4 separate regions of the Homo sapiens genome follow, and all the other regions are linked to region 1. The links are contacts of gene promoters, found by promoter capture Hi-C in blood cells and fetal thymus (Javierre and others, 2016). All regions are on one chromosome and are shown on one strand. The core of a region is centred on a gene start or on the middle of the fragment in contact, and the rest is flanking DNA. Distances in the headings are between cores, read along the strand shown. Region 1 holds the start of AGO3 (argonaute RISC catalytic component 3). Region 2 overlaps AGO3 (argonaute RISC catalytic component 3). Region 3 holds the start of LOC105378647 (a long non-coding RNA gene). Region 4 overlaps AGO4 (argonaute RISC component 4).

What was found. The method cuts DNA at HindIII sites, captures the fragments that hold promoters and counts their contacts. A CHiCAGO score of 5 or more calls a contact.
Region 2: a contact is called between a fragment that was not itself captured here and the fragment with the promoter of AGO3 in region 1, in 2 of 17 cell types (M1 macrophages and M2 macrophages). The highest score is 5.4, in M1 macrophages.
Region 3: a fragment that was not itself captured here is called in contact with the fragment with the promoter of AGO3 in region 1 in 1 of 17 cell types (M1 macrophages); the score reaches 5.3 in M1 macrophages.
Region 4: a fragment that was not itself captured here is called in contact with the fragment with the promoter of AGO3 in region 1 in 2 of 17 cell types (M0 macrophages and M1 macrophages); the score reaches 7.5 in M0 macrophages.

Annotation. Positions count from the first base shown.
Region 1 is chr1:35,929,747-35,934,703 of GRCh38, forward strand. It overlaps AGO3 (argonaute RISC catalytic component 3), which reads left to right and starts at 1,359. Exons shown (of 19, transcript NM_024852.4): 1 at 1,359-1,699. The coding sequence starts at 1,681. It overlaps AGO1 (argonaute RISC component 1), which reads left to right. Exons shown (of 19, transcript NM_012199.5): 19 at 1-786. RefSeq lists enhancers at 975-1,498, 1,499-2,023, 2,024-2,546 and silencers at 1,002-1,511, 1,522-1,861. The HindIII fragment of the contact is 14,155 bases long and covers 1-4,957 here.
Region 2 is chr1:36,040,371-36,045,766 of GRCh38, forward strand. It overlaps AGO3 (argonaute RISC catalytic component 3), which reads left to right. Exons shown (of 19, transcript NM_024852.4): 16 at 1-71; 17 at 3,077-3,178. Among named protein-coding and RNA genes, the nearest start is that of TEKT2, 41 kb to the right of the region's middle. The HindIII fragment of the contact is 4,354 bases long and covers 108-4,461 here.
Region 3 is chr1:36,017,015-36,021,728 of GRCh38, forward strand. All of the region lies in intron 11 of AGO3 (argonaute RISC catalytic component 3), which reads left to right. LOC105378647 (a long non-coding RNA gene) reads right to left here and starts at 4,647. Exons shown (of 3, transcript XR_001737972.2): 1 at 1,927-4,647. The HindIII fragment of the contact is 2,505 bases long and covers 2,152-4,656 here.
Region 4 is chr1:35,825,688-35,830,499 of GRCh38, forward strand. AGO4 (argonaute RISC component 4) reads left to right here. Exons shown (of 18, transcript NM_017629.4): 5 at 1-128; 6 at 239-373; 7 at 1,061-1,148. Among named protein-coding and RNA genes, the nearest start is that of AGO4, 20 kb to the left of the region's middle. The HindIII fragment of the contact is 1,468 bases long and covers 607-2,074 here.

The sequences.
Region 1 (4,957 bases), core at 109-2,608:
TTAATATTATATGGTAAGTACTTTAAAATGGTAAATAGTAAATACTTGTGTTATTCACTAACATTTGGGGAGGATTTTCTCTGTGCTTTATGTATATTACCTAACCTTACAAACTGTGTAAGGTACATGCTGTTCTCTCAATTTTTCAGATAAGAAAATTGAAGCCCAGAGAGATCAAGTGACTGATCCAAAGTCCCACAGTGAGGGGAACTGAAGATAGGATATTCTTTCTCCTTTTCCTCTTTAAAAAATTATTTTGATTAAAAAAAACCGTATTACTGAAGCATAGGGACATGGGGAGAAATTATGAATGATTCCTCAGCCTGAATAAAATAGTATGTTTCATTAAGGCAACAAATATTTATTAAGGACCTAATATTTGCCTGACATTCAAGTGAGGTGGGGGGCACACAAGTAGTAAATAAATAACAGACTGGGCAAAGGGCTACCAAGGCAATACTGTAGTAGACTAACAGGTGCCCCACCATAGATGGGTGGTCCGGAAAAGGCGTCTCAGATGTCTTTCGTTGAGACGCAAAAAAAAGCTGTGGGGTAGGGCGTAAGGGGAGGGTGGAGAAGAGAGAGAGGGTTCCTGGCCAAGGGAACCAAAAGCAGAGAAGCTCCAAGTCAGAAAAAAGCAGCGGTTGGCCCGTTGGGAGAATTGGAAGCCAACCAGTATAGCTGTAGCACAGGCGGGGCCCATTTACGCCGTGCGTTTTCACCCTGGAAAGGAGTTTGGGTTTTCAAGTGTGACGAGGCGCTATTAAAGAGTTTTAAACATGGAAATTACTCGATCTGATGTTTGTGTAGTGTCCTGTTTGTTAGTCATCTTTTCCAAACTATAATACATTTTTTTTTTCCTAAAAATGGTCGTTAAAGCAGCCTAGGACTTAGGTCAATTGCGGTGGTCACTTGACCGCCTGTGAGGAGGCGGCGCGTGGGGTGGATCGGACTGGGCGTGGCGGGGGCTCAGGAAGGAGGGTGGCCCTACCCCAGCGGGCTCGGCTCGGGGCCTCCGCGGCAGTTCGGGGTCCTTCACCCGCCGGCTCCAGGTAGGCTACTCCTCAGGTAAGCCCCGCCGCCAGCCGCGACGTCGTCGCAGACAGGCACCGCCCCCACTCGTGCGGCGCGAGTAGTCCTGCCCCTCCGCGTTGTCTCCGGCCGGCACGGCCCGGCGGGGTACGGCCGAGCCCGCCGCATGTGGCCCGGCTCCCGGACACCTCCCCGGCGTCCTCCGCGCCGGCCGCTCCTGCCCCGACGTCGCTCCGGCACGGCTCGGGGCCCAGAGGCGAGGCGAGGACGCCGGGCAAGCCAGGCAGCGGAACTGACGCCGGCGAGCTTCCGGGGCGGCCCCGGGCAGGTCGGCGGCGGCGGCCCGCAGTCGTGGAGGAGCGGTGGGAGCGTCGGCGGCCGCGGGCGATGCAACTTCCGGACGGGACTCCCCTCTGTCCGCGCCTCACATCTCCCCTTCCTCTCGCCTAGTCCTGTGCCGTTTTCCGTCCGCGACTCTTCCGGCCCAGAGCTTTCGGAGTGCGGTTGCTCAGGGGAAGCCGTCGCCGCCCCCGCCTCGGGGCCGAGTGAGAGTGCCCGTCGCGTCGCGCCGCGTCGCCCCCCGGGCCGCCTCCTTGCCGCCAGTGGCGGGCTCCGTTCTCCCTCGAAGCACTCCCCCCAGCTCCATGAATGGAAATCGGCTCCGCAGGTGAGTCAGAGTAGCTGGGCCAGGTAGGGGATGTCACCCAGCTACTGTCCTCTGAGCATCCCTGCTCCTCCCGCCCGGCCCAGGTGCGCGAGGTGAGCGTCGGGCGGGCATCGCTCGGTCTCCCGCCCCTCGCCCTGCTCCTCCGCGACCTCCCCGCAGCCCAGCCCCAGTTCCCCGGGGGCCCCTGAGTCGGCGAAACTGCGAGGCGGGGAAACGCTTGGAGGATTTAAGTTTGGGGTTATCTAGGCGGCATTACTCTTTGCTGGAGTACCCTTCTTCTAGACTTTAGAATGGTTTGCCATTGTCTAGTTGGAGTGCGTGTCCTTTAGCCAGGTTGTGTGTTCCGTAGAGGCTGGGCAGCCAGCCAGCTCCCTTACCTACCTCTTAGGATAGTTGTGAAGATAGGCTGAGATAACGGATAACTTCAGATTAAGTTCGAAGGAGGTGTTGGTGCAACGTTAAATTCAACATGGCATTGCTCCTACCCTCGAGTTCTTTTCTGTTGTTTGTGGCAGCATGGTAGATAGTTTCTGAGGAGCTTGGAAATGTCATAGCAGCCTGGATCCCTGCTTATACGAGGAGGTGGTTCTTAAAATTGCTGACAGTATATTTTTTTTCATTCTCTATTCCTTAGAGAAGTAGTTGTCATATTCCTGGAAATTTGGAATTTAAGAAAACTGCTTTATCTCTGGGGGCAAGAGCAGCAGTTTTGCAGTCTTAAGAGAAAATTGCAACATGGATAGTACTTGTCCTTAAAAAAGGAAAAGTATTGTTTATGGTTCTAAAGTAATTAATTCAGGGACAGAAAGGTGTTGCATAACGGTTTGCCTAACAAATGATCATGCTTGGCTTATTAAATTTGAAAGTATGCTTCAGACGATCACAAGTTCGTAAATTAATTTTCAAAATATTTGCGGGGCTGTCTTGTTACTAATGGTGTTACAAGTTCCTGAATTCCATATCTCTTTTTGCCAATTTGATATAAGAAAAACTTACGTAAAAGAAACCAGTGACATAACGATAGCTAAGAACTTTGTTGAATAGATTACGTGTCAAATGGTTGCAAAAAAGCACTCAAACTGGGGAGATGAGATGGGGAGAGAGTTACAAATTTTTTTTTTTTTTTTTTACAAATTTTGTTACATGGAAGTTTCTCTAATCAATTTAGACCATATCTCTTTTTCCTGCTCCATTGTTTCGCTTTCCCCCATATCGTCTTAAAAGGTCTGTCTGGATTGTGAAAAGATTTCGACTCTTATTCAGTTTTGATTTGTGTATTTCTGAAACTGTCCTGCCCTTTTAAAAAAATTACCATACTACTGTTTTACTGTACAGGAGATGTGATTATTTGGGACCATAGGTGATCTTTGTACATAACTGTCCTGTTGTCAAGTCTGGAAAACAAGTCATGAAGGTCAGACCCTTTATTAATCATCCCAAAACTTTTAAAGATATTTCAAAAAAGTTTTTAAAGTTTTTTCTTTTTCTCCTTAGGGTTTTTCATATGATATTGTGCCCATATATATGGGAAATGTCTTAGAAAACATTTGTTACATCAAACCACCTAGTCAACTGGTACAACTAAGCCAAGTACAGCTCAGAAAATACATTTTACCTCTTCTTTTTTGGGTGTCCCATTGCTGAAATGGATACCCATTTAGCTGTCTTCACATTTGGGGAAGTGTGTAGTTAGATTATCAACTATATGCCTGGGTCTCTTGAAAAGTAAAGTTTTTTCTTCAGTACAGTTTATACATGATTGAATGTAGCCTAATAATGAAGATAAGCTATACTTTGGCTCAAGATTGTCATCAGAAACAAAATTTTCATTATTCCTGAGACTTGTATATAATTGGTATGCTTAGCTTTAAGTTGAAAGCATAGCTGTGCAACTAAATTTTAAATCCATAATTTAGGCTGGGTGTGGTGGTTCATGCCTGTAATCTCAGCACTTTGGGAGGCTGAGGAAGGATGATCGCTTGAGCCCAGCAGTTGGAGACCAGCCTAGGTAACATAGTGAGACCTGCCTCTACAAAAAACAGAAAACTTAGCCGAGAATTGTGGCACATGTCTCCAGTCCTAGCTACTTGGGAGGCTGAGGCAGGAGAATGGATTGAGCCCAGAAGGCAGAGATTGCAGTGAGCTATGATCGCGCCACTAACTCCAGCCTGGGTGACGGAGCAAGACCCTGTCTCAAAAAAAAAAAAAAAAAAAAAAAAAAAAAAAATCATCATTTGACACGTATTTTGATTTTAAAATTTTAGTATAAATGTTCTCAAAAAGTCTATTGACTCAGTATTGAATCTTGGCTTTCCAATTCTGCCATAAGTTTTTCTTTTTTGTGGAGATTCTCAGGAATCATCTTGTGATAGGATATTTTAAATTCTAGTTGCTCGGTGGATACACAGAAAACTGTTAAATTTGTTTACATTAGGGAACCTCGAACACAAATACCATATAAGTTAGTATTTGTTCTTTCATATGAAATATTTTAAATGCTTTTTAAGGATATCTTGTGCAATCTACTGATTTAGTACCATCAGAACTTTGATTTAACAAAAAAAAAGGTGAAATTAGTTAAAAATTAATCAACAGTTTAACATCTGTGTCTGTGACTCTTTAGTTGGGGAACATCTGATGAAACACCGTTTTTTATGGTCTAATTACTGCTGAACTAAGAGTATAGGTTATGTTTCAGTTCTAAATAAAGTGGGAATAGGGAGCTGCAGAAATGCTTGATGATGTTACTTCTCCTGAGTACTCATTTTTTAGGTCCATACTATTCTAGTCTATGTTTTCAGGTAATGTTAGACTACCGTTTAGGACAGAGGAACTACACTTTATAATGGAAGAAAAACATTTACTTTTACCTTAAATTAATGACATGCAAATTGTTTGATGTTTGGTGGAAGTTTTATACAGTCTTGCAAAAGTGAATAGACTGTTTCTTTCTTATTTACACTTTTAAATTCATGTCTGAAAATAGTTGTTTTAGAGTTCTGTGTTTATTTAATAATAAAAGTTTTAGAAAAGTTATTTGGAACCAAGTTCCAAAGGAATAAAAGTTGCATATATGGGAAGCTAGAACTAAATCAAGATTGGGATTTGAATGATGTAGATAAAAATTATGGGTCAAAAATACCTACTAAAATATGTAATGCCATCAGGGTCCCAATTTAGTATTTAAAACAATCTTCTTTTTATTTATTTATTTTTTTTGAGATGGAGTCTTGCTTGCTCTGTCGCCTAGGCTGGAGT
Region 2 (5,396 bases), core at 1,035-3,534, 110 kb after region 1:
CTGGAATAACCTACATTGTAGTTCAGAAGAGACATCACACTCGATTATTTTGTGCTGATAGGACAGAAAGGGTAATCTCACCTCTGTTGTAATACTGTTATAAACCAAGCTTATCCAACATAGTTCATAGAGCATTCAACAAGGGCCCTCTGCCAACAGCAGGATTTCCAATATATAGTAGCAAATTTCAACAATTACATTATGAGTATAGAAGCATCAAAATAGATTATTTTTAACTTTCTAGAATTTCTAGTCACACTCCAAATATTCAAAATCTCATTCTACTTTTTTGTTGTGAAGAAACTCATGGTTTTAAAATTATTCTTCTATTCATATTTTCCTAAAATCTTCAGAAAAAACAGTACATTCTCTTTTTAAAATATCTCATACAAATTAGTTTTTTAAAAAAGTGGAAATTCAGGCCAGGCACAGTGGCTCACACCTGTAATTCCAGCACCTTGGGAGGCCAAGGCAGGCAGATCACTTGAGGTCAGGAGTTCAAGACCAGCCTGGCCAACACGGTGAAACCCTGTCTCTACTAAAAATACAAAAAATAGCCAGGTGTGGTGGCGCACATCTGTAATCCCAGCTACTCGGGAGACTGAGGCAGGAGAATCACTTGAACCCAGGAGGCAGAGGTTGCAGTGAGCCGAGATGGTGCCACTGTACTCCAGCCTGGGCAAGAGAGCAAAACTCCATCTCAAAAAAAAAAAAAAAAAAAAAAGTGGAAATTTATACAAACTAACTTTTAGCCATGTTTCCTTTAAAGTTCACAGAATTATTTTATGCATTTTATAATGTGAATGTATATTTTTTATAATTAGGAAGGAAAGAGAGGTATAAATACCTAAGGAAATATGTTTTCTTTTTTTTTTTTTTTTTTTTTTTTGAGACGGAGTCTCACTCTGTCGCCCAGGTTGGAGTGCGGTGGCGCGATCTCAGCTCGCTGCAAGCTCCGCCTCCCAGGTTCACGCCATTCTTCTGCCTCAGCCTCCTGAGTAGCTGGGACTACAGGCGCCTGCCACCATGCCCGGCTAATTTTTTGTATTTTTAGTAGAGACAGGGTTTCACCGTGTTAGCCAGGACGGTCTCGATCTCCTCACTTTGTGATCCGCCTGCCTCGGCCTGCCAAAGTGCTGGGATTACAGGTGTGAGCCACTGCGCCCGGCCAGAAATATGTTTTCTTATCTGTGTGCAGCAAGACAGCAGTCTTACTGTCATTTTCAGTGCTCTGATCACATCTGCCCCCATCCTGTAAATCTTGGAGCAGAGAAATCTAATGATACCAAGTGTTGTTTCCCCTTGAGAAAGGGATTTGATAGAAAGGACTAAGAGAGGGGTGTTTTTCTTTGCCATACATACTCACTGTATTCCTTTGGGCAAGCAACTTAACATCTCTGTGTCTGTTTATTTCTTAGCAAGATTGGATAATATTAATATCTACCTTATTTGGGTTGTCGGGAGAATTAAATAAAATACGTAATGCACTTAGAACAGGGCTTGGCCCACACTAAGTACTCAGTAAAGATTGGCTAGCTCTCATTAGTAGAGTGATGAGAACAAAAAAAAATTAATAAATAAAGTTTGGCTAGCTGCAGAGTGGTGGTGATAGTGGTAGAATAGAGAAGAAGAAATAATAATAGATATTGTTCTAAGTATTGCTTATAAATTTCATCAATTTAATCCTCACCAACAAGATTATGAGATAGTTGTATTTTTTTGTTTTTGTTTTTTTTGACAGTTTTGCTCTGTTGCCCAGGCTGGAGTGCAGTGGCATGACTTTGGCTCACTGCAGCCCCCACCTCCTGGGTTCAAGTGATTGTCAGGCCTCAGCCTCCTGAGTAGCTGGGATTACAGGCATGTGCCACCACACCCGGCTAATTTTTGTAGTCTTATTAGAGGCAGGATTTCACCATGTTGGCCAGGCTGGTCACAAACTCCTGGTTTCAAATGATCCGCCCACCTCGGCCTCCCAAAGTGCTAGGATTATAGGTGTGAGCCATCACACCCAGCCTACAACTTTTTGTATATATTAATTAGAAGATTTACGTGTTGCTAATTTATTAGAGTTAAGTATTTTTTTAGGACCAGGCATAATTTAGTAGATTATGAACTGTTTTGTTTTGTGCTTGGTAAAGTGAAGCTGGTTGGTCCACACCACTATAATTCAAGGTACTACCTTATAACAGTCACTCACGTGGCAAAAATATTATCTGAGTCAGTAAAATAGTTTCTGATTTGCTAGCCTTGTAAACCTAGACTTACAGTTAATGATTTTAAATGTGTTGGGATAAGGCGGTGGAGGTGGGTATAATAAACATTTTTAAGTGTTTTATAAGGAGCTTGTATCATCAAGAATTTTGGGTCATTTCAGTTATATTATATCCACTCAGAGAAAATCATGGTGTCCTCTTACAAGATGTTGAAACTGATAGTATGAAATAAAAGGAATAAGGCCTTTGCAATTATTTCATTGTTTGAATCCCAGTTCTGCCCTTTATTGTGTGCTATTGAGCAAATTATTTTGTATTCCTGAGCCTTTATTTCCCTAAACAAATGGAAATAATCCCTAACTTGCAGGATTGTTACCAGGTTTTAGAAATAATGTGTTCAAAGTGCCTGATCCATAAATGGTTAACAAATGGTGTGACTGTTGTTGATCTTGTCAGCATTCTCTCTCTCTAAACATCTAGTTTTCTCCAAGGTAAATGCTGATCTTCATAAATCACACGTTCAAGAATACCTACTATGCACAGGTACCATAAATTGGAGCACTTTAAGTTAATTTAAAAAAAATTTTTTTTAGTGTCTTCCACCCATAGTGGGGTCAACTATCAGCTAAGCAGTAGTAGAGACTGTATTAGGTTTTGTTGTGTATCAGCGCTCACTTTCAGCAACATGTAAGAATAGGAACTAGGACCTGCGTAGTCTGCTCTGAATGACTGCTTAAGTCATATTTCAAGGTGAAAGTAGTGAAATGTAGGATCAGCCTATGTATTCATACATTTTTTAAAGTGCTTTCAGATATATTTTTACCTTTTTCTTGTTTGTTTAAACTTTAACCAAACAAATCTAGGTTGGAAGAAGTGGCAATATCCCAGCTGGAACAACAGTTGATACAGACATTACACACCCATATGAGTTCGATTTTTACCTCTGTAGCCATGCTGGAATACAGGTAAGCCTACACTTTGGGTAAAATATTTTAATTCAAGAACTGTCATTCTTACGTGTATTTTTTAAATCTCAGAAAAAGGATAAAGAAATACTCTTTGCATTCCAAATTGTTTCCACATGAAATTAGATGAAACTTTCAGTAAACAAATGTCTTCCCTTTCCTTACCTTGAGAGGGGCTTAGGAACTTATTTTTATGAAAATACCAGAATATAAGTAGTTTAATAGAATGAATCTCCCTAAAACAGGCCCTTAATTTCACTAAAATGTTAAAAAATGTGAAAGTACCTGATTGTTCCTTTAGCATATGCATCTTTAAAAAAAAAAGAGAGAGAGAGAAAGAGAAAGCACTATTTTGCTCAGGCTAGACTAGAACTCTTGGGCTCAAGCAGTCCTCCCACCTCAGCCTCCCAAGTAGTTGGGACAACAGGCCTCCACACTCAGCTAATGACGATAACATTTTATAGAAAACTTTGACATGTACTAGTAGTATTAAGCATGTGAAAGAGTTTAATTGGGCTGGGCATGGTGGCTCACGCCTATAATTCCAACACTTTGGGAGGCTGAGATGGGCAGATTGCTTGAGTTCAGGAGTTTGAGACCAGCCTGGGCAACATAGAGAAACCCCGTCTCTACAAAAAATATAAAAATTAGCCAGGTGTGGTAGCACGTGCCTGTAGTCTCAGCTATTCAGGAGGCTGTCGTGGGAGGATCACTTGAGCGCGGAGGCAGAGGGAGGTTGCCATGAGCCAAAATCATGCCACTGCACTCCAGGCTAGGTGACGGAGCCAGACCTTGTCTCAAAAAATAAAAAAAAATTTAATTGTAGAATTACAGCTTTAGTTTTTTTTTGTTGTTGTTGTTGTTTTGTTTTGTTTGTTTGTTTGTTTGTTTTTGAGACAGAGTCTCACTCTGTTGCCCAGGCTGGAGTACAGTGGCATGATCTCGGCTCACTGCAAGCTCCGCCTCCCAGGTTCAAGTGACTCTCATGCCTCAGCCTCCCTAGTAGCTGGGATTACAGACTGAGATTACTGGGTGCCACCACACCCAGTAATTTTTTTATTTTTATTTTTTCTAGTAGAGACAGGGTTTCACCATGTTGGCCAGGCTGGTCTCAAACTCCTGACCTCAAGTAATCCGCCCACCTTGGCCTCCCAAAGTGCGGGGATTACAGGCTTGAGCCACTGCACCTGGCCTTAAGTTTCAGTTAAATAATTTAAAAAGTTTTTCTTATTCTTTCCAGAAAACCTTTTCATTAATGTGTTAGCTTTACTTGGTGGAACATAAGCTTTAAATCAGTGCATCTCAAACTTTCCAACAACAAAAAGTAAACTGACATTCCCAGGATGTCTGAGAGTCTATAACCCAAAACTATTTTAGGTTACTTGCCATTATTGATTAAGATAGAAATTTCCAGATGTACCTTACCATACAGCTCTGTATCTTATAGCTTTATATGTCCCACATATACGAACCTGTTTCAGATTCATGGCTTTAAATTATTGTCTGACTCATTTATCCATGTTCTTATATCAGCTCCTCTTTACAATTAATGTTGTACATTTTCAGGGTTGGTGGTTAATGGGAGGTCCAGAGGAAGTGATGTCAGCAAGATGGCTGACTAGAAGCCCCTAGTGCTTGCTCCCCTCACAAAGAAAGCCAGAAAAACAGATAAACAACTACATTTTTTTTTTTTAACGGAGTCTCACTCTGTCACCCAGGCTGGAGTACAGTAGTGTGATCTTGGCTCACTGCAACCTCTGTCTCCCAGGTTCAAGCAATTCTCCTGCCTCAGCCTCCCAAGTAGCTGGGACTACAGGCACCCACCACCATGCCGAGCTAATTTTTGCATTTTTAGTAGAGATGGGATTTCACCATGATGGCCAGGCTGGTGTCGAACTCCTGACCTCAGGCAATCCGCCCACCTCAGCCTACCAAAGTGCTGGGATTACAGACATGAGCCACCATGTCCGACCTTTTTTTTTTTTGAGATGGAGTTTTGCTTTTGTCGCCCACGCTAGAGTGTAATGGCGTGATCCCAGGCTAGAGTGTAATGGCGTGATCTCAGCTCACTGCAATCTCCACCTCCCAGGTTCAAGCGATTCTTCTGCCTCAGCCTCCGGAGTAGCTGGAATTATAGGCTTCTGCCACCACACGCGGCTAATTTTTATATTTTTAGTAGAGATGAGGTTTCACCATGTTGGCCAGGATGGTCTTGAAC
Region 3 (4,714 bases), core at 2,154-4,653, 89 kb after region 1:
CACTCTGTTACCAAGATTTTGGGTTTCTGGTCTCAGTACGTCATTTATAAGTATGGTGTTCCTCATGCTCATACATTTCTTTGAGTTTCTGTTCCAATTCAAGAGAGACCATTTGACATCCTACAGATGGCCATATGCAAACACTTAAAACTTTTGAGAGAATATAGTATCCCAGGGAGACTACTATTATGACTCTCAGGAGAATAACCCTAAGAGTTTGGAGTATGCTCCTTAGCCAAGGTCCCCATGAACCAAGCCACCTAAAATCAAATAGATCGAAGAATAAGCTAGAATAAGAGTCTACTTGTTTCAACCAAGCACCCTGTTTGTTAATCCCCTACGACTGAATCTGTTAATATCCAATGTATTCCTCCATGTTCAATAAGAAGTAGCAGCAGCTGCACAGATACTTCTGTTTAGCCAGTAAGTAATCTAGAGCAATTCTATTATCTAGCACAACTTTAGCAAGATAATTTAAAGTCTCTTGTATAACCATAGTCTTTGCAGTAGAATCTGCTAAAGAGCCTATAAATTTCTAATAGGCTAGAAAATTTAGAGAGATAAATTTCTAATCATTGCCTCATTACATTAACTCCAAACCATAGGCCAGGCGCAGTGGCTCACACCTGTAATCTGCAATCACTTTGGGAGGCTGAGGTGGGCAGATTGCTTGAGCTCAGGAGTTCAAGACCAGCCTAGGCAACATGGCAAAACCCTGTCTCTACTGAAAATTCAAAAATAATCCGAGCACAGTGGTGCACGCCTGTGGTCCCAGCTACTCAGGAGGCTGAAGTGGGAGGATTGCTTGAGCCCAGGAGGCAGAGGTTGCAGTGAGCCGAGATCACGCCACTGCATCCCAGCCTGGGCAGCAGAGCCAGACCCTGTCTCCAAAAAGGAAAAAACACACCATAGAAAAATAAACTAACAAATAATGCCCATCCAGAAGAGTGAAGGCCTCCTGGCACTATTCTCTTTAACCTGTATTGACAATGTTCTCTTTTTTTTTTTGAGGCTGGAGTGCAGTGGCATGATCTCGGCTCACTGCAGCCTCTGCCTCCCGGGATCAAACAATTGTCCTGCCTCAGCCTCCCAAGTAGAACAGGCACGTACCACCACGCCCAACTAATTTTTTGTATTCTTAGTAGAGCGGGGTTTCACCACGTTAGCCAGGATGGTCTCCATCTCTTGACCTCGTGATCTGCCCACCTCGGCCTCCCAAACTGCTGAGATTACAGTTGTGAGCCACCATGCCTGGCCGACAATTTTCTCTTTAAATTATGATGTAGGTTAAGAGGAGTTGACCAGTGCTCTGTTTCTGACTGATTATGAAGCAAAAAAGGTACCATTAAAATTTCTCACCCACATTGGCCCTTCATCTTCCCTCTATCAAGGCGTAAACTTCTCTGTGTGTGAGGGTTTTTGTTTTTTTTTGTTTTTTGGTTTTTGTTTTGAGACGGAGTCTTGCTCTGTCACCAGGCTGTGATCTTGGCTCACTGCAACCTCCATCTCCCGGGTTCAAGCAATTCCCCTGCCTCAGCCTCTTGAGTAGCTGGGACTACAGGCATGTGCCACCATGCCTGGCTAATTTTTTGTATTTTAGTAGAGATGGGGTTTCACCATGTTGGCCAGGATGGTCTCGATCTCCTGACCTCGTGATTCACCCGCCTTGGCCTCCCAAAGTGCTGGGATTACAGGCATGAGCCACCACACCTGGCCAATATGAGGTTTTTTTTATCCTTCACAAATAAAAGTATACCTTGTGAGTGTACACAAGAGACCCCTTTTTCAGTTTAGTTGTTCATAACAGGCATGAACTTGGAAAAAATTGAGAGCCAAAAGCCTCATGATAGCAGAGAAGTCTTGATCCACAATCTTGGGAAATCTGTCCACATCTAGGAGGCCATCTGCTTCTCGGGAGAAACTTACCTCATTAGCTTTACCTTAAGTTCTCCCTCTGATGGGTGTGTGGTTCCAAGAGTCTGGGTGGGCCTTTCTAAGTTGTGAGATTACAAACCCAAGCTTCAGGGTCCTGAAGTTTCGCTGCAGTGTGGGTGACAAGGGGAGTCTTTCTCTGATGTGTTTCCAAAAGATCCAGCCTCTGAATTCTATATCATGAAGGGTTTGCTTGTCCTGAGTCAGTGGTCCATGAAAAGCTTTCTTTACCTGGTGAAAATACACTTTGGCATAATACATTACAGCCTTGCAGCATTTAGTCACGTTAAGGTTTAGGAGCATAAGATACAGAAGGTTCTGTTATTAGGAGCATAAGCCTTCCAGTGACTATTTCATAAGGGTTCAACTTTTGTTTTCCCATGGAAGTGGATCTGTTTGTCATCAATCTGAAACATCTTTGACCAAGGCAATCCAGATTATTCAGTTAGTTTTGCCTAATGCTCTTATATCTGTAATACCTTATTTAACTGTTTTACAGCCAGTCCAGTGAGGCAAGTATCTCTATCACTGGAGATTTCTTCAGCAATGTTCTATGAGAGAAACACATTTCCTAATAACCTTTTAGCTGCTGTTATAGCATCAGCCCACTTGTATGAGAAAGCTCCTGTACAACCAGAAAATATGCACTGAAAATCACAATTGAATGAAATCCCTCTGTAAAGTGTTCAGATGTAGCAGAAAGGTACCTGAAGTTTTGGTTGTCTTCTCAAGATTATGGGTTTGACAAACTATACATTGGTCATAAACCATTTTAGCAATTTAGAACAGTCACAACACCAATATATATGTAAGGTGTTTGTTTGTTTGTTTGTTTGTTTTGAGACATAGTCTCACTCTGTCACCCAGGCTAGAGTGCAGTGGTGCGATCTCGGCTCACTGCAACTTCCACCTCCCGGGTTCAAGCAATTCTTGTGCCTCAGCCTCCCAAGTAGCTGGGATTGCAAGTACCTGCCACCACACCCAGCTAATTTTTTGTATTTTTTAAGTAGAGACAGGCTTTCACCGTGTTGGCCCAGGTGGTCTAAAACTCCTGACCTCAGGTGATCAGCCCACCTTGGCCTCCCAAAGTGCTGGGATTACAGGTGTGAGCCACCATGCCCGGCCAGTATATACATTTTATCTCTTCCTTGATGAATCATGGAATACAGCTTCTAGTAATGGAATTTTTAAGGACTCAGGAAGGAGCAGGCAGCCGGCTGTCCAGTCTCTCTCCATGAGTCCATGCTTAACACTGGAATTGTATCCTCTTACATAGCAATTTTCTTTCTCCAATGGAGGTGCACAGCACTGTTTATTAGATGGGTTATCATAGGTAGTTTGACCTGGACCATGGAGTTCATTCAAATTATGTATCTTAATAGTTTCAGTACTGACTGAGTTAGCATGAAAATCTGGCCAAGTATTTTCTTGGTATTCATTTAATTCTTGTGCTGCTTGAGTTAGCAGTTTTATATATCACTCTGTCTCTTCAATATGGTTCTGGTAATTCTTACTCAGTCCAAACGATATGATCCTAAAGTTACCAGAAACCTATCTTCAGGAGTGCTTACCAAGGTCCATTTCATCTTTTCCATTAACCTCCTTGAAGACAAAATAGGATTTTATTTGCTTGTGAAGTTATTTTTAATAACTGCCATACATTTATTTATTTATTTATTTATTTATTGAGACGGAATCTCGCTCTGTCATCCAAGCTGGAGTGCAGTGGTGCTATCTCGGCTCACTGCAACCTCCTCCTTCCTGGTTGAAACTATTCTCCTGCCTCAGATTCCCGAGTAGCTGGGACTACAGGCGCATGCCACCATGCCTTGCTAATTTTTTTGTATTTTTAGTAGAGATGGGTTTCACCTTGTTGGCCAGACTAGTCTCGAACTCCTGACCTCAAGTGGTCTACCAACCTTGGCCTCCCAAAGTGCTGGGATTACAGGGGTGAGCCACTTGCACCCAGCCTGCCATTACTTTATTTATTTATTTATTTATTTAGAGACGGAGTCTCGTTCTGTCACCCAGGCTGGAATGCAGTGGCACAATCTCGGCTCATTACAACCTCTGCCTCCCAGGGTCAAGCAGTTCTCCTGCCTCAGCCTCTCGAGTAGCTGGTATTACAGGTGTGTGCCACCATGCCTGGCTAATTTTTTGTATTTTTAGTTGAGATGGGGTTTCATCATGTTGGCCAGGCTGGTCTCGAACTCCTGACCTTGTGATCTGCCCACCTCAGCCTCCCAAAATGCTAGGATTACAGGCGTGAACCACTGCGCCCAGCCGCCATTACTTTGAACAGCAGAAACCGCAATTACTTTTGCACCAACCTAATATTAGAAACTGCTTTAGAATTAAGTAATTAACTGTGGAAATGACTTTAAATGGTCATAAAGACACAATTGAGAAGGAAATTTGGTTATTTCTGTGGCCTACAATAGTTTAACGTAATAACCATAATTATGTCTGATAACATATACTGAGATACATGAGAATTTTCATAATCTTATACAATTTTGGAATATATATTAATATTTATAAAAATATAACTCGATGGAGTTTAAACATCACTTCTTATTTGACACTGTTTCTCATGTAATTTTACGTATAAAATAAGCCTGTTTATTATCTCTTTTGACTGTTGTAGGGGACCTCTGTAACATCCCAAAGTTAATTTGAGGTCAAAAAAAGACTTAATTTTGAATTTGAAATTTGATTTGGGGAAGCTTGTCCAATATGTCAAAGATTGAAAACACTTGGCCCAAATAGGATCACAGGTCAC
Region 4 (4,812 bases), core at 91-2,590, 100 kb before region 1:
AGTGGGCCGTTCCTTTTTCTCACCCCCGGAAGGTTACTACCACCCTCTGGGAGGGGGCAGGGAGGTCTGGTTTGGTTTTCATCAGTCTGTGAGACCTGCCATGTGGAATATGATGCTCAACATTGATGGTAGGATGGAACTCTCTTTATCCAATAACTCTTTGGGCTGGTTTTTGTTTGTTTGTTTGTTTTGGCCCTTCCCTTTTCCCTGAAGTGAAGTATCCTTCTCTGTTTGTTAGTATCTGCAACTGCTTTCTACCGGGCTCAGCCTATCATTGAGTTCATGTGTGAGGTTTTAGACATTCAGAACATCAATGAACAGACCAAACCTCTAACAGACTCCCAGCGTGTCAAATTTACCAAAGAAATCAGAGGTAAGTGTTTGCATTAATGTAGTCTTGGAGAAGCAGCTCAGCATGCTGCACGTTGCCTGTGCTCTGGAGTCACACAGACCTGGGCTTCGGTCTCAGGCTAACCACTTCTATCAATGGGACCTTGGTCAAGTTCCTTAACCACTGTGAACCTTAGTGTATTCATCTCTAAGGTAAAGATAATAATATATACCTTGTAGAGTTGTTGTGAGAATTAAATGCAATTAGGCTTATAAAGCTTTCTAGCATAGTACCTGTCACATATCAGGCACTCAGTAAATGCTATGCTTACCCACTTAAGAACTTCCATTTTAATAAAATAACATAAATTCATTTATTATCCTTCTGGGATTTCTTTTCTTCTTGTTATTAGTTAGTTTCCCTCACTAGAATATAAACTTCACGAAAGCTGTCTCCAGACCTGAAAATAAGCATCAGAACATAGTTGATGCTTAATAAATATTTATTGGATGAAATAATAAACTAAAGGAGATTGAGCATCTTAGGTAATCTGAGTTCTAATTTATTCTGCTTAACTCAGGTTTTTTGCCTATAACGATGAAATTGTCCCCATATTCTTGCAATTTTTATCCTGTACAATGTCATGACATTTTGAAGACAACATTTGAATCTGTTTTTGCCACTGTGATTTTAATTAACTGATGTTTTGCCTTTTAAAAAAAATTTCAGGTCTCAAAGTTGAGGTGACCCACTGTGGACAGATGAAACGAAAATACCGAGTTTGTAATGTGACTAGACGGCCAGCCAGTCATCAAACGTATGTTAACCACATCTAAAGTAATACAATTACATTTTTAGTAACAGAGGGAGCTACTATAATTGTTTTAAGAAATTGGTTATTGGCCGGGCACAGTGGCTCACACCTGTAATCCCAGCACTTTGAGAGGCCGAGGTAGGTGGATCATGAGGTCAGGAGTTCAAGACCAGCCTGGCCAAGATGGTGAAACCCCATCTCTACTAAAAATACAAGAAAACTAGCTGGGCGTGGTGGCGGGTACCTGTAACACCAGGTACTCGGGAGGCTGAGGCAGAGAATTGTTTGAACCTGGGAGGTGGAGGTTACAGTGAGCCGAGGTCACACCACTGCACTCCAGCCTGGGCAACAGAGCAAGACCCTGTCTCAAAAAAAATTAATAAATAAAAAGAAATTGGTTATCTTGGCCAGGCATGGTGGCTCACACCTGTTATCTCAGCACTTTGGGAGGCCGAGCCAGGCAGATCACTTGAAGTCAGGCGTTCGAGACCAGCCTGGCCAACATAGTGAAACCCCGTCTCTACTAAAAACTACAAAAATTAGCCAGGCTTAGTGGCAGGCGCTTGTAATCCCAGCTGCTTGGGAGGTTGAGGCAGGAGAATCGCTTGAACCCAGGAGGCAGAGTTTGCAGTGAGCCAAGATCACACCTTGTACTCCAGCCTGGGTGACAGAGTGAAACTCCATCTCAAAAGAAAAAAAGAAAGAAATTGGTTATCTTATACTGAAATTTTCAAGATCACGAGAATCTTTGCTTTTAACACCAAAGTTTTAAAACATTTTCTGAATATTTTTGGTAGAGGTATTTATAAAACACATTCCTTGCCTTTAATTCAATTTACCTCTTAAGTAGAGTATGTTAAACATAGATTAACTTTTATTTAATCTATGTTTTATTTAATCTTTTTATTTAATGATGCAGAGTCATTATAAGCTTTTTTTTATTATACTGTTGTTATTCTTTTTTTTTTTTTTTTTTTTCTTTTGGAGACAGGGTCTCACTCTGTCACCTTCTGGGCTCAAGTGAACCTCCCACCTCAGACTTCCAAGTAGTGGGATTACAGGCATGCACCACCACACTCGCCTAATTTTTTTTGTAGAGGTGGGGTTTTGCTATGTTGCCCAGTCTGGTCTTGAATTCCTGGGCTCAAACAGTTTGCCCGCCTCGGCCTCCCAAAGTGCTGGGACTACAGGTGTGAACCAGCACACCCAGCCTACTGTTGTAATTCTTAATACATGGCTCAAAAGGTCTATTAAGGCCTAGATATCATATAAGGCTGTCAGGAGAAGACATACATGTAAATAAAATATATGAGAAGACATTTTATATGTATGTATGTATCTTCTAAAAAAAATACAGACACACGTATATATATAGTGCTTGGCACCGTCATGGCCCACTGCAGCCTCAGCTTCCTGGGCTCAAGCAATCCTCCCACCTCAGCCTCCTGAGTATCTGGGACTACAGGCATGTGCCACCATGCCTGGCTAATTTTTGTATTTTTAATAGAGATGGGGTCCCACTTTGTTGCCCAGGCTGGGAGAAGACATCTATTGCTTTGTGTTTTGTGTGGATTTCTCTCCCTCCCTTTGTAGGTAGCTGTCACTTCTTACAGCTGTTGGTGTCTATGGCATCCTCCAGCAGCATACTCCTTTCCATTTCCCCAATCTCATTTTCCTAATCACCCAACACTTCTTTTTTTTTTTGAGACAGAGTTTAGCTCTTGTTGCCCAGGTTGGAGTGCAATGTCGTGATCTCTGCTCACTGCAACCTCCACCTCCCCGGTTCAAGCGATTCTCCTGCCTCAACCTCCCAAGTAGCTGGGATTACAGGCACCTGCCACCATGCCCAGCTAATTTTTTGTATTTTTGGTAGAGACAGGGTTCCTCTATGTTGGCCAGGCTGATCTTGAACCCCTGACCTCAGGCAATCCACCCGCCTCGGCCTCCCAAAGTGCTGGGATTACAGGCATGAGCCACTGCGCCCAGCCCATCACCCAACACTTCTAATCTACTGAAAACTGTGCCTCAGTGAGACACTATATGTGAAAGTGCTTTAAAAATTATATCTGTATCTTATTCTTGTAATCAAGATCATGTCTGACATAAACATAAATATTGGCTCTTCTAAATAAAGAGTTAAATATACAGTATACACTTTACTACATTTACATTATTTTGGTTACTCAGAGCCCCCCCCCCCACACACACACCTTTTTTTGCTTATATTCTAATCTGACTTTGTTTTAGATTCATGATTCTTAATTTTCAAACTTTAGTGCATATCAAAATCACCCAGAGGGCTTTGTCTAGATAGTTGAAATTTTCAGATGGCTTCTGGATAAATAAAGTGCATTATTTCAGTCTGATTGGAATAAATTCTTCAGTATGACCTCATGTACACACTACATGAATTTCTTAAGAGTGGTAAATTGGTATTTCATGTATTATTTGTATTATACCATTGACTTCTTTCTCAGAAAAAAAAAAAAAAAAGTTACCAAAACCTTATGAAGTCACTGTTGAGAATTGTAGCATTTGTTCAAGAACTGTGCTCTTTTCATTATTTAATTATTTCACATAACCCTGTTAGAATAATTAGACTTATAGACGTATATAATCTTTGCTGAAAGATTATAACTCATATATTTAAATATCACATAGATGACCCTTACTGCACCACTACTTTGTAAGGCTGTGGCAGTTAAGAAAAGAAGATTAACGGGCTGGGCGTGGTGGCTCACGCCTCTAAATCCCAGCATTTTGGGAGGCCGAGGCAGGCAGATCACTAGAGGTCAGGAGTTCAAGACCAGCCTGGCCAACATGGTGAAACCCTGTCTCTACTAAAAATACAAAAATTAGCTGGGCATGGTGGCAGGCATGGTGGCAGGCGCCTGTAATCCCAGGTACTCGGGAGGCTGAGGCAGGAGAATCACTTGAACCCGGGAGGCAGAGGTTGCAGTGAGCCGAGATTGCACTCTAGCCTGGGCAACAGAGTGAGACTACATCTTAAAAAAAAAAAAAAAAAAAAAAAAAATGCAAGATTAAAACCCGGCATGGTGGCTGACAACTGTAATCCCAACACTTTGGGAGGCTGAGGAAAGAGGATTCCTTGAGCCCAGGAGTTCGAGACCAGCCTGGGCAATGTGGCAAGACCCCTCTATAAAAAATACAAAAAAATTAGCCAGGCATTTGTCCCAGCTAGTTGGGAGGCTGAGGTGGGAGAATTGCTTGAGCCCAAGTGGTGGAGGTTTCAGTAAGCCAAAATCATGCCACTGCACTCCAGCCTAGGTGACAGAACGAGACTCTGTCTCAAAAAAAAAAAAAAAAAAAGCAAGATTAAAGTTATTATTGTACTAAGTATTTGAGATAATTTGCCCACTGGAAAAGCCAAATAGAGTATCTTAATTATGCCAAATATTCTGGCACAGTCTCAGATTCATGTATTTGGTCTTGTTGTCTCCAGATCCACATGTATTTGTTCTAGTTTTAGGATCTAAAAATTTGGGAATCTAAAAATGTGGCCCCAATAACTATGCTACACTCATTTTACATAAAGTTATCTTAAGGGAACAAAACACCTACATGGATTACTCCAAATCTTTATGTTAATTTGAAGCCAGCAAGAGGTTGTATTTGTACCTGTAGGTGTTACCTGACCTCAAGTGAG